4 separate regions of the Homo sapiens genome follow, and regions 2, 3 and 4 are each linked to region 1. The links are contacts of gene promoters, found by promoter capture Hi-C in blood cells and fetal thymus (Javierre and others, 2016). All regions are on one chromosome and are shown on one strand. The core of a region is centred on a gene start or on the middle of the fragment in contact, and the rest is flanking DNA. Distances in the headings are between cores, read along the strand shown. Region 1 holds the start of OSM (oncostatin M). Region 2 overlaps NF2 (NF2, moesin-ezrin-radixin like (MERLIN) tumor suppressor). Region 3 overlaps NF2 (NF2, moesin-ezrin-radixin like (MERLIN) tumor suppressor). Region 4 overlaps NF2 (NF2, moesin-ezrin-radixin like (MERLIN) tumor suppressor).

Region 1 (3,314 bases), core at 502-3,001:
TGGAGAAGGATCCCCTCTTGGCATGGCCCCAGGAAACAGCATTGTGGGGGTGGGCACAGAGATGAGGACTTCAGCGGAAGCGACATTCTCAGGATGAGAATCCAGAACTGGCCCCTGGGGGTGGTGAGGGGGAGGTATGAGGCCTGGTGTGGTGAGTCCCAGCCTGGGTGCCGGGGAGTGGGTAGGGGCTGAAGAGCAGCCTCCTGGGCGTGGGGTCGCCTATTTTTGCCTACTACGTGATCCTCAGACCTGGGAGTGGCTGGTGCAGCATGGAGCCAAATAAAGGTTTGTCGAATGAATAAATGAGTGATGGGGAGAATGGGTGGCAACTGCCTTGGTGGCCACAGTGGGCATCGGGAGCAGGCATGGACAGGGGTGCATCCAACCTCCTCCTTTCTGGCTGCCCCAGCTCTCCTTGCTCAGGCGCCCCAGACCCCATGCTCCCTCCAGCTGGAGCAGCTCAGGCCTCCCTGGCAGCCTCCAGGAGTCCCACCCTGACTCCCCAGACTCCTGAGGGCCTCCTCCCACCCGGGCTTCTTAGGGTGCAGGCCAAGGACCCTCCTCTGGGCCTGGGAGATGTGCTGACCAGGCAGGGTCTATAGGCCTGGGCCAGCCTCTTGGCCTCCCTGTCTGCCTTCACCCAGGCCTCAGTTTACCCCACAGTAAAGTAGCAGTTTGACTAGGGAGGCGCTGTTCCCAGGGCCCTTTCGCAGAGGACCAACCTAAGATCGCTATCTTTCAGAGAAAGTGAAACCTGGTCCCCAACTGTCAAGGCGGCAACTCCCCCTCCCCGGCTTCCCCTCTGAGCTCACAGCTTCCCCATCTCCTCCTTCCCCCATCCCGCCCCCTCGACAGCTAATACTTGGAATCAGACCTTCATCTTTGCTTTTTCCTTCAGAGGTCTTTTCCTTTTATGTCCATGCTGGCAGCAACCCTGTGAGGTGGGCTGGGAAAGGCTTTTCTCCTCCTCATTTTATAGTTGTGGGTCTCTGAGGCCCAGAGAGGTTAAGTGACTTGCCTCAGGTCACACAGCACCTCAGCAGGCTTGAACCCTGGCCTCCTGTTTCTCTTGCTCCAAGTGTCCAGTTCTCCCCAGTGGAGCCTGCCTACAAAGACAAGGCCTGGCTTTGGGGAGTGGGCCTGGCAGAGGGTGCACGATGGGGGAAAGGAGACCGTCGGGAGCCGGGCTGGGGGATGCTGGTCCTGGGGCCTGAACCACAATCTCGGGGCTGCCAGCCTGCGTCTGGCTCTGTGCCCAGAGCCCGGTGGTTTCCGCTCACAGATGTCCCAACAGCCCCGGCGAGAGGGCAGGAAGGGCACTCAAGAAGGAAGATGTCTCGCTCCCCTCAGCCCCCAACCACCGTGTCCTGTGAGGCCAATGGCTCCTGGGCCAAGACTGGCCTGGGGCCTCCAGAGGCCCAGCTCGAAGTCCCTCCTGCCCATCCCTGGCCCAGTTCCCTGAAGATGGCATGGACCCTTTTCCTCCCCACTCACCCTAGGAAGGCTGAGGCTGCGGTTTTACATCATCCTTGGGCGTAGGGCTGACCTCGAAGAACGAATTCGAAGAAAACAGGAGGAGGAGCGGGCATACACCGCGCCCTGCGCCCATTGGCCGCCCGTGGAAATTTTGGTTTTTGGGGTCATGTTCCCAGAAGGCCTGCCCTCCCCCCTCCCCATCCCCACCCACCTCATGAGGTGTTGGCCAATCGCCCCAGCGGGCATAAAGTGGCTGCCAGCCTGCAGGGCTCCCAGCCGAGAGGTGTCACCCCCAGCGGGCGCGGGCCGGAGCACGGGCACCCAGCATGGGGGTACTGCTCACACAGAGGACGCTGCTCAGTAAGTACTTCCTTCCTCCCCGCCAGAACCCGCCTGCTGGGTCTGCCCACGGGTGCCGGTGGGGAGCAGAGGCACCCTCTGCCCTCCGGGAACTGGGGAGGCCAGGCGCCAGGCAGAAGGATGCTGAGAAGGGGAGAGAGCCAGGAGGTCAGGCAGAGAGAGTGGTCCACTGAGAACCTGGCATCTCCACAGGTAGAGAAGGGGCATCCCTGGAAGGCTTCCAGGGGGAGGTGATGTCAAGATGTAGAGGCAACTCTGGGAACCAGGGGGTGAGAGAATAGGATGGGCAAAGAGGCTGGGCAGGAGAGGGAGGCTCAGAAGCTGGGCAGGGAAGTGGTGTGAGGTGTGGAGGGGTTGTGGGGCCTCCAGCTTGCCCGGGATGAATAGAAAGTCAGCCAGGCCTGGGGGCCCCAGGGCCCACACAATCACACAGCATGCACAGCCACACCCACATGGCCACATGCGCACACAGCCATATGACGTCATCTACAGCCCTGGATCTCACCAGCCCAGGAACCCCCACATGCAGACCAGAGTCCCCATGGTGAACGGAACAGGTCTCCCTCACGCCGCACACAGACCCAGATGCACAGCCACACAGAAACCCCAGTCCCACGTGCGCTGCCACAGGCACAGGCCCCTGCCAGAGCCCGGCAGCAGATACCTGGGGAGGCGGCGAGGGTGCCGTGGGGTCGCTAAGCCTGGGTGCCTGGCCCCTTGGCCCTCCCCAACAGCCAGTCTTCCCCAAAGGGCCGGATGGTTCTTAGGACGGGAACGATGGTGTCACTGCCTTCCGGGCCATTGCGCCATAGGCCCCTTCCGACCACGTGGCTGCCGGTGCCCCGTTGGGGGTGGTGGTGAGCGGTAACTGTACCCGCCCCCAACACCTTCTGACAGGCTCACAGCATCCCTGGTGGGCCTGACAGAAGGAGCCACTTATGGAGAGAGGAGGGAGGCAAGAGAGGTCAGGGGAGAGCCCTGGCCTTGTGTGACCTGAGTAGGACCTTCTCCTGAGACTTGGTTTACCTGTCAGGAAAGTGGGGACATGGACTGGAAGGTCTTCCACATCTGTTCCAGGCTGCACCTCTGGTTGAAAAGGCAGCCTCTCCTGGTTCTAGACAGAGCTGAGGACACAAGCTGCTCCCGGGCTGCCTGCCCTGAAGCCCTCTCAGGCCCATCTACCTGGATGGCCAGAGCAGCTGACAAGGCAGGTCCTAGGGCAGTGGCCGGTCTTTAGCCCAGTGGTCTTGCAGGGAGCCAGTCCCACCTTGCAGAGAGTCAGCTCCCGAGGTTAGAACCGTGCTGTAGGCAGGACTGGGATCCGGCCAGGCACTGCAGCCTTTGCTCAAAGACCTACTTGGTAAATCGCAGCCACTGTCTCAGTCCCTCCCACTGCTTGCTGTGTCAGGCCCTGGGCAGTGACTTACTGGGGAGATGATGGTGGCCTTGGTGGGCACACCTGGGCACACACCGTGCCA
Region 2 (3,251 bases), core at 1-2,500, 600 kb after region 1:
AAAAGGTATAAAACAAGAGCAGGTATGTCCACGGCCAAAAGACTCCTGCCAGCCCATGACCACTCCTCGCCTCCCAGGCCAGGACTGACCACACAGTGACATCATCAGTTAAAACAAGGTTGTGCTCACCTGCTTTCTAGCCTTCTCCTCCCTGGCCTGGGCTTTCATCTGCTGAACTTCCAAAGAATCGGCTTTCCTTCTCCTCATAAATAGATCATGGTTCCCGATACATAGCTGGAGAATCTGTGGCCACAGAAGCAGACAAAAAGGTTAATATCCACAAATTTACTTCACTGCCTACTGGCCCACTAGTGCCATAGCAGTTTGAGCTCTTGCAGGTAGCAGTAAACGTGAAGATGAATGCATAGAGTGAAACACCAAAGCCCTACTAGTGGCCTCTAGTGCCGTCAGCTCTGGAAACATGCAAAATGAAGGCGCCTCAGATATGCCAGGAGGTAAAAATCATAAATCAAGAGAGGACTGGAGGACACTTCACCATGTCTTCTGGGTGCACCTTACTCTCCTACATCAAGATGTGGTTCTGCAGACCAGGGAGGATAGGAAAGCTCGTTCAGTAAGCTGGGCTGAGGCAACAGGTTATGCATGTGGAAAAAAATAAGTTGTATCCCTCCCTTACACCTTACACAAAAATCAACTCCAGAAGGATTAAATACTTAAATGCAAAGATTAAGCCCTTGAAACTTTTAGAAGACAATATAGAAGAATATCTTTATGATCATAGGATAAGAGAAGATGCCAAGTAAGACACAAAAAGTGATTAAGGAAAAAATGTATATATTTGTCTACATTAAAATTAAAAATTCTTATTGTCAAGACATAAAAAAAGAAAAAGAGCAACAAACTGGAAGATATAGCCAATAAAGAAAACAGGCTAGGTGCAGTAGCTCACACCTGTAATCCCAGCACTTTCGGAGGCCAAGGTGAGAGGATCCTTGAGCCCAGGAGTTCAAGACCAGCCTGGGTGACATAGTGAGACGCCATCTCCACAAAAAACTCAAAACATTTGGCCAGACCTGGTGGCTCAGCACTTTGGGAAGTGTAATCCTAGCACTTTGGGAAGGGGAGGCAGGCAGATTGCTTGAGCCCAGGAGTTTAAGACAAGCCTGGACAACATGGCAAAACTTTGTCTCTATAAAAAAAATACAAAAAATTAGCTGGGCATGGTGGTGTGTGTCTGTAGTCCCAGCTACTGGGGAGGGTGAGGTGGGAGGATCACTGAGCCTGGGCAGGTCCATGCTGCAGTGAGACATGATCGTGTCATTACATTTCAGCCTGGGCAACAGAGTGAGACCCTATCTCAAAATCTCAAAAAAAAAAAGTTCATTTGATAATGAGATACCATTTTAGATGCACAAGATTGGCAAAAATTTTAAAAGGCTGATAATACAAGTATTAAGGATAGCAAAAAACAAACTTCACCCACTACTGTTGGGTCTGTAAAAATCGATTCACCTTCTTTAGAAAACAATGTGTCATAATTTTGAAATTTAAACATATACCAAGCCCTGTACTTCTACTCCTGTGTATATACTCTAAGCTCTATTTTTGATTTATTTTTATGTATTTATTTTTTTTTTGGAGACGAAGTTTTACTCTTGTTGCCCAGGCTGGAGTGCAATGGCATGATCTCGGCTCACTGCAACCTCCACCTCCTGGGTTCAAGCGATCTCCTGCCTCAGCCTCCTAAGTAGCTGGGATTTATAGGCATGCGCCACCACGCCCAGCTAATTTTGTATTTTTAGTAGAGACAGGATTTCTCCATGTTGGTCAGGCTGGTCTTGAACTCCTGACCTCAGGTGATCCGCCTGCCTCAGCCTCCCAAAGTGCTGGGATTACAGGAGTTGAGCCACTGTGCCTGGCCCTCTTTTTTATTATTTAAAAATTTTATTTATTTTCATTTTTTTGGAGACAGGGTCTTGCTATGTTGCCCAGGTTGGTCTCGAACTCCTGGCCTCAAACAGTTATCCTGCCTTGACCTCTCCAAGTGCTGAGATTACAGGCGTGAGCCACCCCACCTAGCCCAGTATACTCAAGACTCCAAAGAAACTATTGCCTATGTGCACCAGGAGGCAGATACAAAAGTTTTCATAACAGCCTGTTAAAACAGTATAGAAGTGGCTGGGTGCAGTGGCTCACGCCTGTAATCCCAGCACTTTGGGAGGCCAAGGTGGGCAGATCACAAGGTCAGGAGTTCGAGACCAGCCTGACCAACATGGTGAAACACCATCTCTACTAAAAATACAAAAATTAGCCGGGCGTGGTAGTGGCCGCCTGTAATCCCAGCTACTCAGGAGGCTGAGGCAGGAGAATTGCTTAAATCCGGGAGGCGGAGGTTGCAGTGAGCCGAGATTGTGCCTGGGCAACAGAGTGAGACCCCATTTCAAAAAAAAAAGTATAGAAGTAAAAAGCACTTAATTATCCATTAACAGAAGAATCAGAAAAATATATAACAGAGTGCTACAGAGGTGAGAATGAACAGACTATCTTTAAGCATCAACAAAGATATATCTCAAAAAAATAATGAAAAAGGAAAAGGAAAATGACAAAAGAATATATATACTTGACAGCATTTAGATAAATTTCATAAACATATGACATTGAATGGTATTTTTCTTTTGCCATATATGAAATAAAATTCTGTTGAAAAGCAAGAGGATGATGAATACTCAACTCAAAACAGTGATCACCCTTGGGGAGAGGGAAAGGAGAGACCAGCAGGGTGTTAACATGAAGGGTCTCAACAGTATTGGGACTGTGCTATTTCTTTTTTCCTTTTTCTTTTTCTTTTTTTTTTTTTTTCCTGACCTTGTGATCCACCCGTCTCGGCCACCCAAAGTGCTGGGATTACAGGCGTAAGCCACCGCACCCGGCCAGGACTGTGCTATTTCTTAAAGTGGGGTTGTGGGTACACAGCTATTCACTTTTGTTATTCTTTATAATTCATATGTTACACTTATCCTTTTATATGTATGAAATACTGCATTAAAAATCCTTTTTAAAAATTCCTCATCGGCTGGGCGCAGTGGGTCATGACTGTAATCCCAGCACTTTGGGAAGCCCAGGCGGATGGGTCACCTGAGGTCAGGAGTTCGAGACCAGCCTTACCAATATGGTGAAACCCCGTCTCTACTGAAAATACAAAAATTAGCTGGGCATGGTGTCTCATGCCTGTAATCCCAGCTACTTGGGAGGCTGAGCCAGGAGAATCTCTTGAATCTGGGAGGCGGACG
Region 3 (3,201 bases), core at 701-3,200, 630 kb after region 1:
ACAGGTCTGTCCTGTCAAGGATGCCTAACTGAGGCCAAAGGGGAAGCTACTCACCCAGTCACCCAGAGCAAATTCAAACTCCTGGTATCTAAACCCAGGTGACGAATAGATATCAATATACTGTAGTGTGTTTATCCTATAGCCTCACTTTCAAAAGAACCTGAAGCAATGGCAATCTCTTTTCTCAGCTATTCCATCTGCTATGTGGAAAAGCAAGTTCAATGTCTTAAGGGAAGAGAATGGCTGGCAACTTAGTAAATGTTGCCACCTAGTGGCTTTCAAGTTAAACCACCAGGATGTTCCCATACAACCCCTTAGTTGCTGCTTGCCCCCTCCTTGCCCCAACCACCCCTAAATATCAGATGGACATTCAAATACAAACTCGAGTGCATTAGGATCATATGAGATGCATCATAGAAATGGTGGTCATGAAAGAGTAATCTTTCGACAGACATGGGAAAAATGAGACCACTCAATTGCAGAAGCATCCGTCCCTTCCTGCCCTCATTAGAAATCTCCACTCAAAGTCTTGGCACACTGAAGATGTATATAATGAAAAGGAATGAAAAAAATTCTTAGGCAGCCGGGCGTGGTGGTTCACACCTGTAATCCCAGCACTTTGGGAGGCTGAGGCAGGCGAATCATGAGGTCAGGAGATCGAGACCATCCTGGCCAACATGGTGAAACCCTGTCTCTAGTAAAATACTAAAAAATTAGCCAGGTGTGGTAGCGCATGCCTGTAGTCCCAGCTACTCGGGAGGCTGAGGCAGGGGAATCACTCGAAACCGGGAGGCGGAGGTTGCAGTGAGCCGAGATCATGCCACTGCACTCCAGCCTGGCGACAAAGCAAGACTCCATCTCAAACAAACAAACAAAAAATCTTAGGGTTTAGAGACTTGCTATAAAACCAAGAAGGGAAAAATAAGTTAGACCTCTGATACCTGATTGGTTTTTGCTAAAACCTGATTCTACAGGGGAGTTTTCAAGTAGGCTTTTCATTTTTAACACATATGAATGAACAGTGGGTTCTCTACAAGGTACTCAACAGGAAAGCCCATCCCTTCTCTGTGTTTGCAGTCAAAGTCAAGCAAAGCAGCAACCTAGATGGAAGAATATCAGGACCACAGCAGACAAGTAGCTGAGATGCATACTGGCTTTTATCTTTTAGCAGGGCCGTTTCTCCTATCTGTCCTTCAACTTCTGCCCTGTCTCCTCTCTGACTATAGTGGGGCCACTGGAACACTATAAAGATTGAGGTCTTTAGGGATTATTTTGAGAAGAATAAAAGAAAATGATGAGTTTTATTTTTAACAGATGATCTCCTTCCTCGTTTTTAAGGCTGAGTAATGGGCACATCCATTTCCCAGTCTGACAATAGGACAAAAAGCTTTTTAATTCACCAAAAGTTTTAATTCCTACAGGCAGACTTCACTGAAGAAATGTTATTTTGGAAAACTAGAAGTTTCAGGATGCTGATTATCCTCTTGTCTCTATTTTAAGGCAGCTCTAGTATATAAATTATAAATGACTACCTTGCTACAAGATAATGTAACATTAAAGAACAGGCATTAACTTGGAAAAGGTAAACACCCAAGGGTTGAGAAGATCAAGGTAACGATTCCCAATCTGCCATAACTCATGGTCATGGCTGGGCTGGGCTTTGGCAAGAAGGGGCTGTCTGTAAGTGGGGTGTGCAGTGCAGAGAAACAAAAGCTGCCAAGGGAATGATGAGTGAATTTCCTGACATGGGAGTTTAAATTCTCCAGCATAAAATTGTATTAATGCAGTTTTCCTGTATTCCCTTCTACTTTGTTTTTAAAATGCAAAACTGTCTTTGTTGAATGCAAAAAGACAATGTATTTGTCCCCTTGGCACTTGCAATACAGTGAGAAGTGCATCAACTCTGACACCAATTCAGAATGCCCTACTTAGATTTTTAACTTTGACACAAAGGATCGTAGACTGTCAAGAGTTGGAAATGAGCATGAGTAATTACCTAATGTAGACTCATACCCTTTTTGTGCAAATAAGGAAACTGAGTCACAGGATTCTTTGCCAGCTGCCAAAGCATACACTGGCCTTTTTCACGGTGATCTAACATAGGCAAACCGCAGACCCTAGAGTGCCTCTTTTCCTGTTCTGTGGGGTCCCTTTGTTCTTGCTGTCCAGCACTCCCCAGACACCTTTTCCAGTAAGTAACCAGTGTTTGAAACAAAATCCATTCTCAGAAGAGTCAGATATTGCTCGTTTACAGCTCAATGTGAATTAAGCCTCTGTTACCTCCCACTTATTCTTTCAACAAGGATTATAGAGCACACCCTACATGCCAACCAATGTTAGACACTGATGCTACAAAATGGTGGAAGCAGTGTTCTGCAGGAGAAACAGGCAAGACCTAGGTCAGAGAAGGCTTTAAAGAGCAAGTGAGAGTTAGATGCAGGAGAGAAGGAAATAAGTCTTTTTTTAAAAGTCATGCTTTCTACAGGAAACTGCAAGTCATCTTGTAAAGCTTAAACAGACAGGAGGTGGCATGGCGGGAATGGGGCTCCATTTGGGACCAGGTGGCTCAACTTCAGCCAAAAGCTGCAAAGTCTTTGAAGACCCTTGAGCAGACGAGTCATAGGCTCCAATCTGCAATCTGGATGGGCTCTGACAACAGGGTGGAGTATGAGTTGAACAAAAGAAGCCCTGGATCAAGAAGGCCAGAAAGTAGGCCAACCCCTGACATAAGGAAGGCAGTAGAAGGGAGAGAAGGCAGCCTGAGAAACGGAAAAGAGGCAGAGTCACAGAACAGGTGCCTGAACAGGACCAGAGGAGACAGAATTAAGAGGGACACCTGTGTGTCTGGCTTGAGTACCAGGTGGTTCCACTAAAGGAGAGATGGAATCAAGGAGAAGCAGCAAATCTGGCAGGGATAGACCAGCAATTAAGTTTTAGACAAGATGAGTGAAGGTGCCTGAGGAAACCAAGTAAAGACGTTCAAACATATTTGATTTAAAGCCCTAATTCCACTTATAAAATAAAATTTTGTCTTTAAGCAATTAAGAAGTCTTTCTGTTTGGTTAAATCTAACCTCAACATGTTGCTACCTACATCAGGTTCCACTTTCCAACAAGCCCTTCCCCAAATGCATGAGGTTTGCTCAGTCTTCCTAATTTGGGTTTCTACTTCTTTAAAAACAAGCGCCATTGGTCACAGTTG
Region 4 (3,206 bases), core at 593-3,092, 580 kb after region 1:
TATTCCGGCACGGAGCCTGCAGCAGCAAGGCTGCTTGATTAAGAATGAATTACACTTTCATCAGCACAGACAGAAAATTGATTCACAAGGCTGCATTGTGATCATCTTGTTCCTAAAGCAAGGGAAGGTTGGGGGAGACACAGAGCTACTTTGGCTATCAGTGGTGAGAGAAAGGAAGCTGTACAATTAAGCTGGGGAACAAAACTAATCAGAGCACCAGGATTCCTTCAACTAGTCTCTGGGGGCCTTGCCTCAATCCACTCATCCCAGGGGAGGAGAAAAGAAGGTAGGAGGGGACCATCTCATTCATTTTAAACAATAAGACTCACAGTACTGAACCCATTTTAGATACTAACCTAATAACTCCAGGCGCTGGGTCTCTGCTTGTCCCATAAAAATGCAGTGGAATTGAAATGTGAGCCCTAAAATCATGTTACACTTCCTCTCCACTACTACATATTGAAAACGAAGGAGCGGGGGAGGGTGTAGACACAAAAGGACGTGCAGATCCTCTGGCACCGGATCCACAGGGAGAAAGCAGACTCAGAGCAGAAAGGTGACAGCTGAATCCAGCAGCAGCAAATTCCAAAAGAATCTTTGGTTTGGGGTGTGGGAAACCTTCCCCCTTCCAAATAAGCAAAGAGGAAGGGCCAGTAAAGGGGGATGGCTGTACTAAGTGGCCAGATCAAGCTTTTCTTTACTTTCTCTTTTTTTTTTTTTTTTTTTTTTTGAGACGGAGTCTCACTCCGTTGCCAGGCTGAACTGCAGTGGCGCGATCTCCGCTCACTGCAGCCTCTGCCTCCTGGGTTTAAGTGATTCTCCTGCCTCAGCCTCCTGAGTAGCTGGAACTACAGGCGCATGCCACCACGCCCAGCTAATTTTTGTATTTTTAGTAGAGACAGGGTTTCACCATGTTGGCCAGGATGGTCTCAATCTCTTGACTTCGTGATCCGCCTGCCTCGGCCTCCCAAAGTGCTGGGATTACAGGCATAAGCCACCGCGTCCGGCCCAGATCAAGCTTTTCTGCAGTCTGGCTAGGGACAGCTGCACCCAAATGCCATATGGTGATGTGCACAGTGGGAGCACTATCCACACACTTATCCTACACAGAGGTGGAACGAAAGGCCAAGTCCACCCCAATGAACAAATCCAATTTGTTATTAGCGACTTTATCTGCTCTCAAGAGAAATCTGCCACTGAATACCCAAGGGGCCCTTTTTGTGTATTAATCCCTGAGGGACCCAAAGCAGCAAAAGCTGCCTGAAAACCTGTCTACCTGCTTTGCAGGCTGCCCTGTGGCACTGGCCGGCGGGGCCCTCCGCTGCTCCTCTGTTCCTTCCCCTGACAAATGGCCTAATGGGCCTGATTCACCTCACTGGGCAGGTGGCGGCTATCTACTGAGTGGTCTGAGCAAGAGCCTTAGGAAAAAGGTCCAGATAGACTGATGTCATTTTAAAATTGCCAACATCAAAAGAGAAATCACAGCAAGGATCATGAGAACAGAACCTCGGGCTCGCAGAACGAGTTTGCATCTGGCTCTTCCCTCCCACTGTTGCAGCAACGAATCCGGTGCCGAGGAGAGCTGCACTGAAACACATCTTCAGTGCCGAGGGGCCGAACAGGGTGTTTTACTGCCTCAAATAAGGCCTGGTAATATCCTCAGGCATCTCCAAATGGTGGTAAAGTACCTAGGCAGGCAAGGCAGGTTTGTAGGCTCTTCAACACCTCCCAAAGAACAACTGCTTGACCAGGTAAAGTCTCTTAACCAAAAACAGGATTGGCTTGTTGACTTTTAGAAGAGGCCGATACAGTCTTCTATCTAGAGCTACCAGAAACAAGCAAGAAAACTAAGCTCTCAACAGTTACGAGACACCAGGAACTCAGTGTGTGAGAGTGGTAGGAGTGGCCTTCAGGGATGAGCCCAAGGTGTCCCATCCGGGAGGAGCACTAAGAGCAGCCTGCAGTTCCTAATGCCTTCCCTGGGCTTCCACAGAGCCAGGAGGCGGAGAGGAAGAGTTCAGATCGCCACTGCAATTTCTTCCCAGTGTGCTATGCCCACATCTGGTGCTGCTACTGCTCCCTGTTAATCCTTGCTCCCCACCCCACTCCCCACTCCTTTTTCTTTCCTTCCCCCTCTCACCCCTGCCTTGCTCTAGCAGGGAAGGTTCAGGGCTGGGGAGCCAGTATGCTACCTTTTATGTCAAGGCCAAGATGCTCTACCATACAACGCCCAGTTCCTAAAGCAAGCAGAGCCATTCAGCCCACTGGGGTCATAAGGAGGGTTGGCTATATTAACTACCTATTAAACTTAAGTAATTTAGGAGCCATCTTCAGGGCTGGCAATGCAGACCAGAGGTCGCCAGGGAGGCTCTGGCCACTTGTTTTAATTGTGGGAGACACCTTTCCCGCATATGCAATCTCTCTCTGTGATTTATCACTTCCCCGGGTGTTTTTTTAACTGTTCTACTTCACTTCACTGGCTCTGCAACTCCAAGGGGAGCCTGCACAAATTGAAGATGACATTGGACTTTTATGTCTTCCTGATCCAAGAGAAGCTGCTGGCGCTTGAGATAAATGTCAAGGCTCCTCTTCTTCCTGTTCCTCCATCAGTGGAAACCACAGCTGGACCTTGACGGTTCAAACCATTTACTAATGAAATAAGCTTTCTAAGCTCCACCACCCCCATGATTTCTCATCCGTCAATTTCCTTGGAAATCCTGTGCTCCTTGGGAGACCACAGGCACAAAAGTGATGACTTTGTTTGCTGGCACTCAGACCAGCTCAGGATCGGGAGACTGAAACCCCTCTCTTGAGAAGCGATGAAAGAAAGACCCTGAATGTATATATTCCAGGACTGCATTCTACCATCAAGGTATGGTGGTACAGTTACGCCACACCAAGCCACCACTCCCATCATTGGCACTGTGGCTCTGAAGGCACGAAAGCCAGGCTCAAGGCACCCTGTGTCCCTCAACCCCAGCCTGATGGCCAGACTCACTCCCCTCACTCGGAAGGCTCAGATGCCAGGACACGTGTCGCTCCCACTGAGAATGAAACAATTCCAGGTTCCCCAGGGCGGCTTTTGATCGCTAGCACTGCTCTGACTCAGATGCAAATGGCAAACTAGTTGTACTGATCATCAATTGGGAAAAATGGAAATACAGGAAGTTAAGATTAGCAAGAGGAGAAAAATACATCCTTGCAAA

What was found. Contacts are between HindIII fragments. The CHiCAGO score rates a contact against its expected background, and 5 or more counts as called.
Region 2: a contact is called between a fragment that was not itself captured here and the fragment with the promoter of OSM in region 1, in 1 of 17 cell types (M0 macrophages). The highest score is 5.5, in M0 macrophages.
Region 3: a fragment that was not itself captured here is called in contact with the fragment with the promoter of OSM in region 1 in 4 of 17 cell types (erythroblasts, fetal thymus, M0 macrophages and 1 more); the score reaches 5.8 in erythroblasts.
Region 4: a fragment that was not itself captured here is called in contact with the fragment with the promoter of OSM in region 1 in 1 of 17 cell types (erythroblasts); the score reaches 6.2 in erythroblasts.

What each region holds. Positions count from the first base shown.
Region 1 is chr22:30,265,288-30,268,601 of GRCh38, reverse strand. It overlaps OSM (oncostatin M), which reads left to right and starts at 1,751. Exons shown (of 3, transcript NM_020530.6): 1 at 1,751-1,836. The coding sequence starts at 1,803. RefSeq lists enhancers at 2,348-2,447, 2,508-2,587. The HindIII fragment of the contact is 8,742 bases long and covers 1-3,314 here.
Region 2 is chr22:29,665,325-29,668,575 of GRCh38, reverse strand. It overlaps NF2 (NF2, moesin-ezrin-radixin like (MERLIN) tumor suppressor), which reads right to left. Exons shown (of 16, transcript NM_000268.4): 10 at 130-243. Among named protein-coding and RNA genes, the nearest start is that of CABP7-DT, 53 kb to the left of the region's middle. The HindIII fragment of the contact is 4,563 bases long and covers 1-3,251 here.
Region 3 is chr22:29,633,008-29,636,208 of GRCh38, reverse strand. The region is part of intron 1 of NF2 (NF2, moesin-ezrin-radixin like (MERLIN) tumor suppressor); the gene reads right to left. Among named protein-coding and RNA genes, the nearest start is that of NF2, 31 kb to the right of the region's middle. The HindIII fragment of the contact is 1,122 bases long and covers 1,390-2,511 here.
Region 4 is chr22:29,686,702-29,689,907 of GRCh38, reverse strand. The region is part of intron 15 of NF2 (NF2, moesin-ezrin-radixin like (MERLIN) tumor suppressor); the gene reads right to left. Among named protein-coding and RNA genes, the nearest start is that of CABP7-DT, 32 kb to the left of the region's middle. RefSeq lists a silencer at 1-110 and enhancers at 1-463, 683-1,182, 1,183-1,684. The HindIII fragment of the contact is 1,644 bases long and covers 1,021-2,664 here.